2 separate regions of the Homo sapiens genome follow, and region 1 is linked to region 2. Evidence: promoter capture Hi-C in 16 types of primary human blood cells and fetal thymus (Javierre and others, 2016). All regions are on one chromosome and are shown on one strand. Each heading gives the region's core, a stretch centred on a gene start or on the middle of the fragment in contact. The rest is flanking DNA. Distances are from core to core; before and after follow the strand shown. Region 1 holds the start of SMAD5-AS1 (SMAD5 antisense RNA 1). Region 2 holds the start of FSTL4-AS1 (FSTL4 antisense RNA 1).

What was found. The method cuts DNA at HindIII sites, captures the fragments that hold promoters and counts their contacts. A CHiCAGO score of 5 or more calls a contact.
Region 1: the fragment with the promoter of SMAD5-AS1 here is called in contact with the fragment with the promoter of FSTL4-AS1 in region 2 in 1 of 17 cell types (neutrophils); the score reaches 7.2 in neutrophils.

Annotation. Positions count from the first base shown.
Region 1 is chr5:136,131,939-136,136,578 of GRCh38, forward strand. SMAD5-AS1 (SMAD5 antisense RNA 1) reads right to left here and starts at 2,952. Exons shown (of 2, transcript NR_026763.1): 1 at 1,412-2,952. SMAD5 (SMAD family member 5) reads left to right here and starts at 907. Exons shown (of 8, transcript NM_005903.7): 1 at 907-1,024. RefSeq lists enhancers at 171-230, 261-310 and a silencer at 621-1,260. The HindIII fragment of the contact is 4,393 bases long and covers 1,835-4,640 here.
Region 2 is chr5:133,254,383-133,258,793 of GRCh38, forward strand. It overlaps FSTL4-AS1 (FSTL4 antisense RNA 1), which reads left to right and starts at 2,063. Exons shown (of 2, transcript XR_007058939.1): 1 at 2,063-2,136. The region is part of intron 6 of FSTL4 (follistatin like 4); the gene reads right to left. The HindIII fragment of the contact is 11,288 bases long and covers 1-4,411 here.

The DNA.
Region 1 (4,640 bases), core at 1,702-4,201, 2.9 Mb after region 2:
GAGAGCCAGTATTGACCTTTTCAAATAAAAACAAAATTATTCAAAAGCTTTTTCTTACTAGTACTATTCAAATCGGGTACCCTATGTGGTACCAATATTATATTCTAGGAAATACTGACGGTTTTGGAAATTTGGAGGAAAAAGCATCGAGAAGAGCTCCAATTACTTAGAAAAGAGAGTCCAGGAGATGGGGTGGTGTATATAAGCCTATGGATGGTGTCTCTGCAACTCAGTGGCCCCGCCTGTCCAGGGGCTGGGTCCCCACGGGATCTCCCTCCCCACAAGGAGGTGGAGAGGCTATGTGTCTTGAACAACTGGGGTTGCGATCCAGTGTATGGGCAGTCCCACTCCTGGAACTCCAGGGTGGGCACTCGCTCCATTTCCACAGGCCCTCAAGGGTTCCAGGATTGCCCCGTGGGAGGGGTTTTAGTGCTGCATCTAGTAAGAAGCTGTAAGATGCTCAGAAACATGTTTTGAAGCTACTTTGCACAGAAAGAAGACTCTTCATTCAGATTTGTATTACAGATCAATAAAAGTAGCTAAGTCGTATCTGAAGATGTTTTTGTTTACACTTTGTATGTGACAGAAAACCTCCAGTTGTCTGTGTCAAGGACAATTACTTAATTTTATTACAATGTATACTGATTTGGTTAGTGGAAGCTTCTAGCGCCTACTGTGGTGGTGGTGGGAGCTATCTGATTCCCATTCCCAGGCCTGGCCATCGACGCGAAGGCCTCCAGCTGATCGGAAGTCGGCGTTGGCCGGCGCGGAGCCCGGCGCGGAGGCTTCTTTCAGCCGCCCGGGCAAGACACCCCTCCCTCGGTCCCGCAGCGGTCACTCCGCCTCTGGCGCGCATGCGCCGACCCCAGCGGGCGTCCTCCCGGGCTCCCTCTCCCTCCCTCCCTCATCCGGGTCCTGGGCGAGCGGGCGCCGTGCGCGTGTCCCGCGGCCGAGCTGCTAATAAAGTTGCAGCGAGGAGAAGCGCAGCGACGGCGTCGGGAGAGCGCGCCTAGCCGGCTCGCGAGTGAGTGAGGGTCCCCGGCGCGCGCGGGCGAGGGGAACTGGGGGCTGCAGGCTCTGCCCCGGCGGACTCGGGCCGAGGCGGGGGCGTTCGGCCGCGGACGGAGCGGAAACGACCCAGGGCCTGTCGGGCGGGAGGTAGGCCGAGTCCTGGCCTGCCGGGGTCCCGGCTGGCGGACACGGTGCGGCCCAGCGGCTGCGGAGGCCTCGCTGGCTGCCCGGGGCGTCCTGAGGCGGGGCCGGGGCTGGCCCTCGTCCCAGCCCCGCTGTTACCGCCCAGACTTTGGAGGGAGGCGTCTGGGACGCCCTGGAGGGGACCCCCTGACCCCGCGCTGTCCTGGGGAGCGGTTTGCTTTCCTAACTCATCGGATGTACCACCCTGGATACACACCCTTGATAGGACTGCGGTGCTCGGCCGGGCAGCCTGGGCTGCTGCACTGCGAAGCTGTCCAATGGCTTGATGAATCCGTGCCGCCGTCGCTTTGTGTTTCAAAGATAAGGATCCGCGCTTATCGGTGGGAATTACACTCTGGGCAGTTGTGACCGGCTACTGCAATCAGCTGGTAGTTAGACCTGGTTTCTGCCACTTGCCATGTCAGTTTTCACCACTGCAAGGATTTCTTCTACTTCATGTAAACTTCTCTGTGCTGCAAAGAGAATGCCAAAGCAGCGTCTTTTTGCCTTCACCATATTCAGCCGCTGGCCGGGTCCTATACTTCAATATCAGGGCTCAAATTAATATTCCAGTCTCTTCCCCTCCCCTTTTCCCCTCTCCTCCTTTCAGCTGCTGTTACTACGTGGAGTTTGGAGCCTAAGCTTTGAAAACTCCCATGTGGCGCGCCCGTCTTAAGTCTGAGCATGCTCAGTAGCCAAAACAGATTTTTGGTTGCAGAACTCGGGCGAGGATACTTGGGGTATTTGGACGTTTGCCGGCTTCCCAACAGAATGTTCCGGTTCTGGTGGTGATGGCATTGGAGAATGGGGCTTAGGCAAGCCTGTAGGTGAGGAATGGCTGAACACCCTGAGCCAGATGTTTATCTTGATTGTAAAGACAATGTTTCCTGACCAGCTGGAGCTTTGGGGGGGGGGGGGGGGTGTTGCGGGGGGAGGGAGCAATTTTGGTTGCTTGTGCATTTAAATGGGTGTGGCGCTAAGTATATCTTGTTTACCTTATCTTTCTGTGGAAAAGTTTTGATGTCTAGGTTTGTCACATCATGCCTGTTGCCTAGCACTACCAAAAGGGTTGTTATCTAGCAGCAAAGATTGAATAGGTGGAGGTCGTGGCTTGGCCTCACAGAAGTTGAGAGGAAAGGGTACTTGGGTTGCGTTTTTGAAAATTCGTATTTAAAACTAGAGTACTTGAATTTCCTTAGAGTACCTGAATTGCCCAGAGTGAATTAGTTTTTAATTTTAATTTGAAAGACAAAAGATTGAAAACCTTAGTCCCAGTAGGTTTAGTAACATTCCAAATAGCTTACAATTTCTGCTAGATGCCAATGCAGTAGTATCCATTGTGGGGAAAACAGTACCTACATTCAGTGTGACAGTTTCACATTTATGGATCCAAATATCATTATGAAATTAGTGTTCCAAATTTAAGGAGCTATTTGCAGATGTATAACAAATTATTTTAGTCTTTTATTCCTTTGGTAACTATTAATATTTTTTTCTCTACAGTGAAAATTGTAAAAATGCAAAACTTAGACAATTTAACAAAACTTAACCTTCATAAAGGTTGTAGATACTATGTTTAGATTTATAAAGTTTAATTTTGATGATTATTTGTGTGATTGTTCCTATACAGCTTCCTTTCCTTCCCTTTCCACATTGTTGCTCCCTCAGTCTTTTTTACATTACTGCTGTTAATTTACCCATGTATCTTTGTTAAAAATACCTTATTCATCATTTTGTGCTTCCATTCCTTTCAGATCATAGCTGAAATAAGCAAGAAAAGTTAGATTAACCTTCTCAACTGACTTTACTCTCAGGTTTTAAAGGCATCCACATGATATGGTCTAGTTAAAAGGAGGAAGAGAGCAGCAAACTGGAAAAAAAGAATAAAATATTTTCGTAGGTTCTGTACAGATCTGGTAGTATTATCTGCGTGTCTGGTTCACTGTGGTAGGCGCCACAGAAATGGGTAGATTGATAATGTGTTGGATTTCTTTCCCCTCTGGCAAAGTCAGCTATTAATTTCAGTGGGAGACAGTGGCAGAATGTTGTTACTAATGAGGTTTGAATCAGATTGTTGTTTACTGTTGGTTATGTAACATGTTGCTGGGAGTATTATTAAAAGTTGCATTCTGCAGCAAAGTAGAGGCAAGTAAATTCTGCTTACCCTCTTCACTGGGTTTTAATTCTTGGCTGAACCTGAAGGCACATTAGATTACAACCATAATTATACCTGGGCAGCCTGTCTGTTTCCTGTTTTCATCATGAACCCAAACATTATGATTTGCAGTGATGATCTTTTTTGTCCTTTGCATTGAACGGAGGCAGTGTGTTTTCTCCCTCTACTGAAAACAGATTTGTAACTTGGTCAAATTAAAGATTTTAGTGTTTTGAAAACTAGGCAGTAAAATACCAGTTTTTCATTTCTTAATACAGTTACTTAAGTTGAAATACCATCTAAAAAAATCTATTTCATATATATTCTTTGTCTTTATGTAAATTTTAATATTACTAGTACTTTGTAGAGTTAAAGAAACTCTTTTTGTTTATGACATATCAGTGTTTATTATTACCAGATGTATATGTTGGTCTAGGCAATGAGCCACACATCTGGGTGAATTTCAGAGCTGACTTGAGTACGCTTGAGGATATAGGTGTCTATTCTCTTGGTTTATCAGTCTTCCCTGTTTTTACTTCTAGACGATCTATATTCCTTGTATCTGTCTGTCTGTCTCTCTGTCTCTCTGTACACTAACCACAAAGAAGGCAAATAGTTTATTTCTTCAAATGTTACAAGCAGCTTATAGCCTATGATTTGCCCGTCTTCTCATAGGGTCAAAGACATTGAGTAAGATTCCCTTTTATAAGGGATACTAGTAGCCTGAGGAATGATTCTTGTCTCCACCAGTCTGGATATTCTAGAGAAAAGAATACCTGGATATTCTAGAGAAAAGAATATTCTAGAGAAAAGAAAAGGCCCAAGGAAGCTGGGATGCAATATAGGGTGCTTTCCCATCAAAACAGATGATGAAGGACCCTTGGAAGCTGACCCATGGCATCCCCCCGCCACTGGGTTCTAGCTCTGTCGCCCAATCTGGAGTCCAGTGGCGCAATCTTGGCTCACTGCAACCTCCGCCTCCCGGGTTGAAGCAATTCTCCTGCCTCAGCCTCCCAAGTAGCTGGGATTACAGGCACCCACCACCATACCCGGCTAATTTTTGTATTTTTAGTAGAGACGGTGTTTCACCATGTTCGCCAGGCTGGTCTTGAACTCTTAACATACCTTGTTTTTCCACTTCTGAAGTTAATAGAATAATAGTCATTGGAATTTGCAGTTCATTGGTGTTGTCACATACCCTTTACCTCTAATCAGAAGTCTGAATCTGAGAAGTTTGTTTACTAAATGGGAGGTAAAGATTTAGAACTCTTTTGGAAGAATTGTTAAAAAC
Region 2 (4,411 bases), core at 813-3,312:
CTGAAGCAAACACTGAGGGCAAGAGGACTGAGTATTGTGCAGGTGTGGGACTGATTGGCCCATCAGGCCTGGGCCGTGTGGCCACCTCCAGGGGCAGGGACTAGGTGTTTGGGCTGGGGTAAAATGGCTAATGGAAAGGGTATATTGGGCAGATTGACACCCTATGACCATCATAGGGATGCAGAGAGGGCCCCCTCCCTTCCCCCTATCTGCATCACAACTGCATCGGGAAGCCTGGGCATCGTGCGTGATCAGGGCAGATAGCCGCAGTCATACAGTGAAGACGGTAAGAATCGTCAGAACTGAAACCTGATTTAGGCTACTACAGTCTTGCCTCCACCCTGCGCCTTCTCTGGAGAGTGATGGGGGCAGCTTTCACAGGGAGGAGATGTGGCCCAACTAAGCAAACCCCATCATCCTGTTGAGCCTCACATCCTGATGGCGAGGGTCTGGAATTTGTGGAGATGGCCTTCTGTGTTCAGTGATCACACATCTCCTGAACCTCACCTGCGCTGGCCACATCTGCAGGGCTGTGGACCAGTTAAGCCCCAGGCCTGGTCTCTGCTCTGGTGGGGAGCCAGGCCACATGAGAGGAAGATGAAGATGCCACATGCAGCCCTCTAGGGGGCAACGAGTGGTCCTTCTGGCTCCTGGCTGTGGCTCCAATGCCCCTGTGTTGACTGACCATCTGTGGGCTCATTAGCCACTATGTGGGAAGGTTTCCAAGGTCCCTGGACGACCAAACGTGATATGCCCAGCACTCAGAGTGTGATCAGGGGTCAGTGAGAGAGGGCTCAGCCAGACGCTGTGTCTGGGGTGAGAATGTGTCTACACACTGAGGCTGGTGTCTTTGGAAAGAGAGGGCTGGGTTGGGGGTCAGAGCAGCCCATCAGGGAGCTTGTCTGGCACTACTGGGCAGAAGTCTGTGCCCACAGAGGGACTGACGCCCTGCTATGAGAACTGACATTGGAGAGCTGCTCTGCAAGTAGGGAATCTGAGGAGGGCAAGGGAGTTGGGGGGTTCTCAAAGCTCAGGGCTTCCCATGATATCCCCCTGGGATGAAAACAAATGGGTCACACTGCAGTGATGGCCCAAGTCAGTGTGGGTTGGTTGGCACAAGACAGAGCTTCCTGGACCACTAGCTAGGCTGCGTGTCCCACAGTGGGATTCTGGGCAGGGCTGTCTGGCACTCTGGTGCCTAGCACAAGGCATGGCACACAGTAGGTGGGCTCAAGGCCATGACCTATCTCTCTAGGCCCTTCAAACCAGTGCAGTAGCATACCCTTGGTTTTCCAGACATGAGATGCCACAAACACCCGTCCTCACCTTTCTCCCTGAGTCTTGGAGCTTGGAGAGAAGAGGCAGTCACAGGGAATTAATGGGCTTACCATAAGCAGGCTAACAAACACCCTTCCTGAAAGCAGGAGGCCATAACATTTCAGTTGTTGGAGAACTGGGTTTTAGTTCCTATTACAGGTTTCCCTTAATCTCAGGCGCTATTTCTCACACTGACTTGAACTCGATAAGACACTCATAAACCCATCAGCACCCTCTCAAACAGGATTCTGGTGCTTTGTAGTGATAGAAATTAAATTTCTCAAATTCTTGTCAAGCTGGTGTTAGTTTTCTTATGTCAGAAACACACTAATGGAACACATTCCTACTTGGATATTTGCCATTTTTCAAATGATGCCATTGGTGAAAAAAACCCTGTCAAAAGCTCAGTAACCTGCCTGCACATCAATATTTTTGACTGAGCCTCGGAGGGCAAACTCAGGCTCAGGGGCCTGCTTGGGAATGAGGGCAATTTGGAGAGAGCACAGGCCAGGCGCTTAGACACATCTCTCTAACTGCGGCCTCTTCCCACATTATTCTCCTTCTAAATTAATGTGCTTTCCTGAAACAAACCCCTCAGGTGACCTAGGTGCCACCAAAGAAGCTGGGGCATTGGAGTGACAAAGTCTATTGATCTGGTCCCATCCCTGTGACCAGAGTCACACTGTGAAGTTGGCGAGTAGGGGAGGAGCCAAGGGGGAGTGCGCATGCCCAGTGTCTCCTGAACAAACAGGGCAACATCTCCCGGACCTTGTGACTTTGGCTGGTGTTTACAGAGTGAAGCTGCTTTGGCGTATCCTGGTGAGCCGGGCAAGGCGGGTGGGAGGGATGGTGTGCTTTTTGTCTCCTCTGTTCCGTCTACCAGAGATTGTCACTCTGGGATCCTTTCAAATAACTGCTGAATGTTTGTGGATGGGAGGCTGGGGACAGGATGTCTTAAAGCCTTTCATCTTGACATTCCTGTTTAGAGCACCAGGGTGCATCCAGCCTGCACAGGTGGCTCTGTATTAGCCAGACTTGCTCCAAAGCCACACAAGAGAGCACTTGCATCTGTCCCAAATCTCCTGTTTCCTTACGTGTAACCAGATTCAATCTTCCTGCCATTGTCATTCCCTCTTGCTTGCTTCATTTTGGGGATGGCAATAAAATTACTAGTTAATTACCTGCGGGTCAGTGGGTAATTTACTTTTTCAACTGGCCTATGTTGCTTGATGTTGCTTCAACTTTTATTACAGTTTAGTTATCAAGTTCTGCTCTCTGGTGTGAACAAACACCTTTGTAAGCTGCATAAAGGCAGAGACTATATCTGTTTTATTTATGTTGTATCCCCAGCACCTAATACAATGCCTACCACGCAGAAGGGACTTAATAAGCAGTTTTAAGCAAGTGAACTATTAGGCTAGTGCTCAGTCAACAATTATTTATGGAGCTGGTACCAGGAGCCAGGATACAGTGGGAATATACTGGCAAGAAAAACAGGCCCAGTGCTTGCTAACCTGGAGCTCATGGCTTAGCAGAGAAGACAAGTGTTAAGTGGGGAGGGAGAGCAGAGGCCTGAACCTGTCTACAGACCCCAGGTTAAGGGCCCGTGACTCCTGTAAAGCCTGGTTGCCCTCTTTCTTGGTAGAGCCCTCCCTGTGTGCCTGGCAGACCTGTGTCCTGCTATCGAGACATCCTAGTCTGATGTAGTATCCTCCTTGTTTGCAGGAGGGGCCGGCCTGTGCAGGGGCAGGGTTACCTGGGCATCCCTCTAGGCTCTGGGGTTCCATTTAGCCTCCTCTGGCCAATACACCTTTTTAGTTTTGAGAAAACTAAACCTCAATGTGACTGCTGTGTGCAGACGAACAGGAAGTTAGAGCAGAACTCAGTGCCCAGGGGCTGTGAGATCACCATTCTGGGTATCATGGGGTGCCACAGTGTGGCAGGCAGGAGAGGCATCCATCAGAAGGAGCAAAGGGTCCTTGCTGAGGTGGAGAGCACAGGGCCTCCTGGTCAGCAGGAGCATGGCTGTCACAGTGCTGCATACCAGCTCTTCCACCTCCGCTGGTTCCTGTGTGTGGGGTAGCCTTGGTCAGCTTGGCCACTCTATGGGTCTCTCCCACCCTACTGAGTCTACACCCAAAGATGATGGGCATACCTCTGCTCAAGATATTTGCAAAAGGAGAGTATCCTAACTGCCTATTACTTTGGTGTCTTAAGGGGGAAAAGAATGTATTACCTTATGTAATTATACAGAGCTACTCAGAATTTACAAAAATTCATACAGATCTCTAAGGTTGGATCCAGAATCTCCTGAGCAAGTCAGTGGAGAAGAGCAAACAGTTTTTACCTAACTAGCAAGAGGGGGCCATGCTGTGTGTTTCCAAATGCCAGCTCATCTTCCAATTCCTGTGCACTCATTATGACTATTTCGTGGCCTCTCTTGGAGCCAGAATGGGGCCATGTCATTGGGTTTGACATGGTAGGTGATAGGAGGTGACCAAGCCTGGCCACACAACCTCTGTGTCATTGTCTTGGTTAGTTTTATGTGTTACCTTGACTGGGCCACAAGGCACCCAGATATTTGTTCGAGCATTATCCTGGGTGTGTCTGTGAGGGTGTTTCTGGATGAGATTGACATTTGAATCAGTAGACTGAGTAGAGAAGATTGCCCTCCCCAATGAGGGCAGGCCTCATCCAATTCGTTGAAGACCTAGATAGAAAAAATGAGCCTGGGTAAGAGGGAAACCCTCCTGTCTCACTGCTGAGCTGTGACATTGGTCTTTTTCCTGCTTTCAGACTGAAACTGAAACACTGGCTTCAACAGAAGCCAATGTTTTATTGGTTCCGTAGAAGACATATACATCTTCTGTTGGTTTTATTTTTCTGGAGGATAACACAGTCATCATCCATGCTCTCCTCTCCTCGTCTTTGGAGGTCATGCATTTGATGAGAGTGAAGAACATGGTCTAGTCACTGTTTAGGGAGAGCTGCCTGACCCCATCGGACTTGATGAGGATGGGAAACCAGCCTTTACTATACTACACTACTGAGATTTTGGGATTTCTATAGCAGCTGGTGTTAATTACATAACACA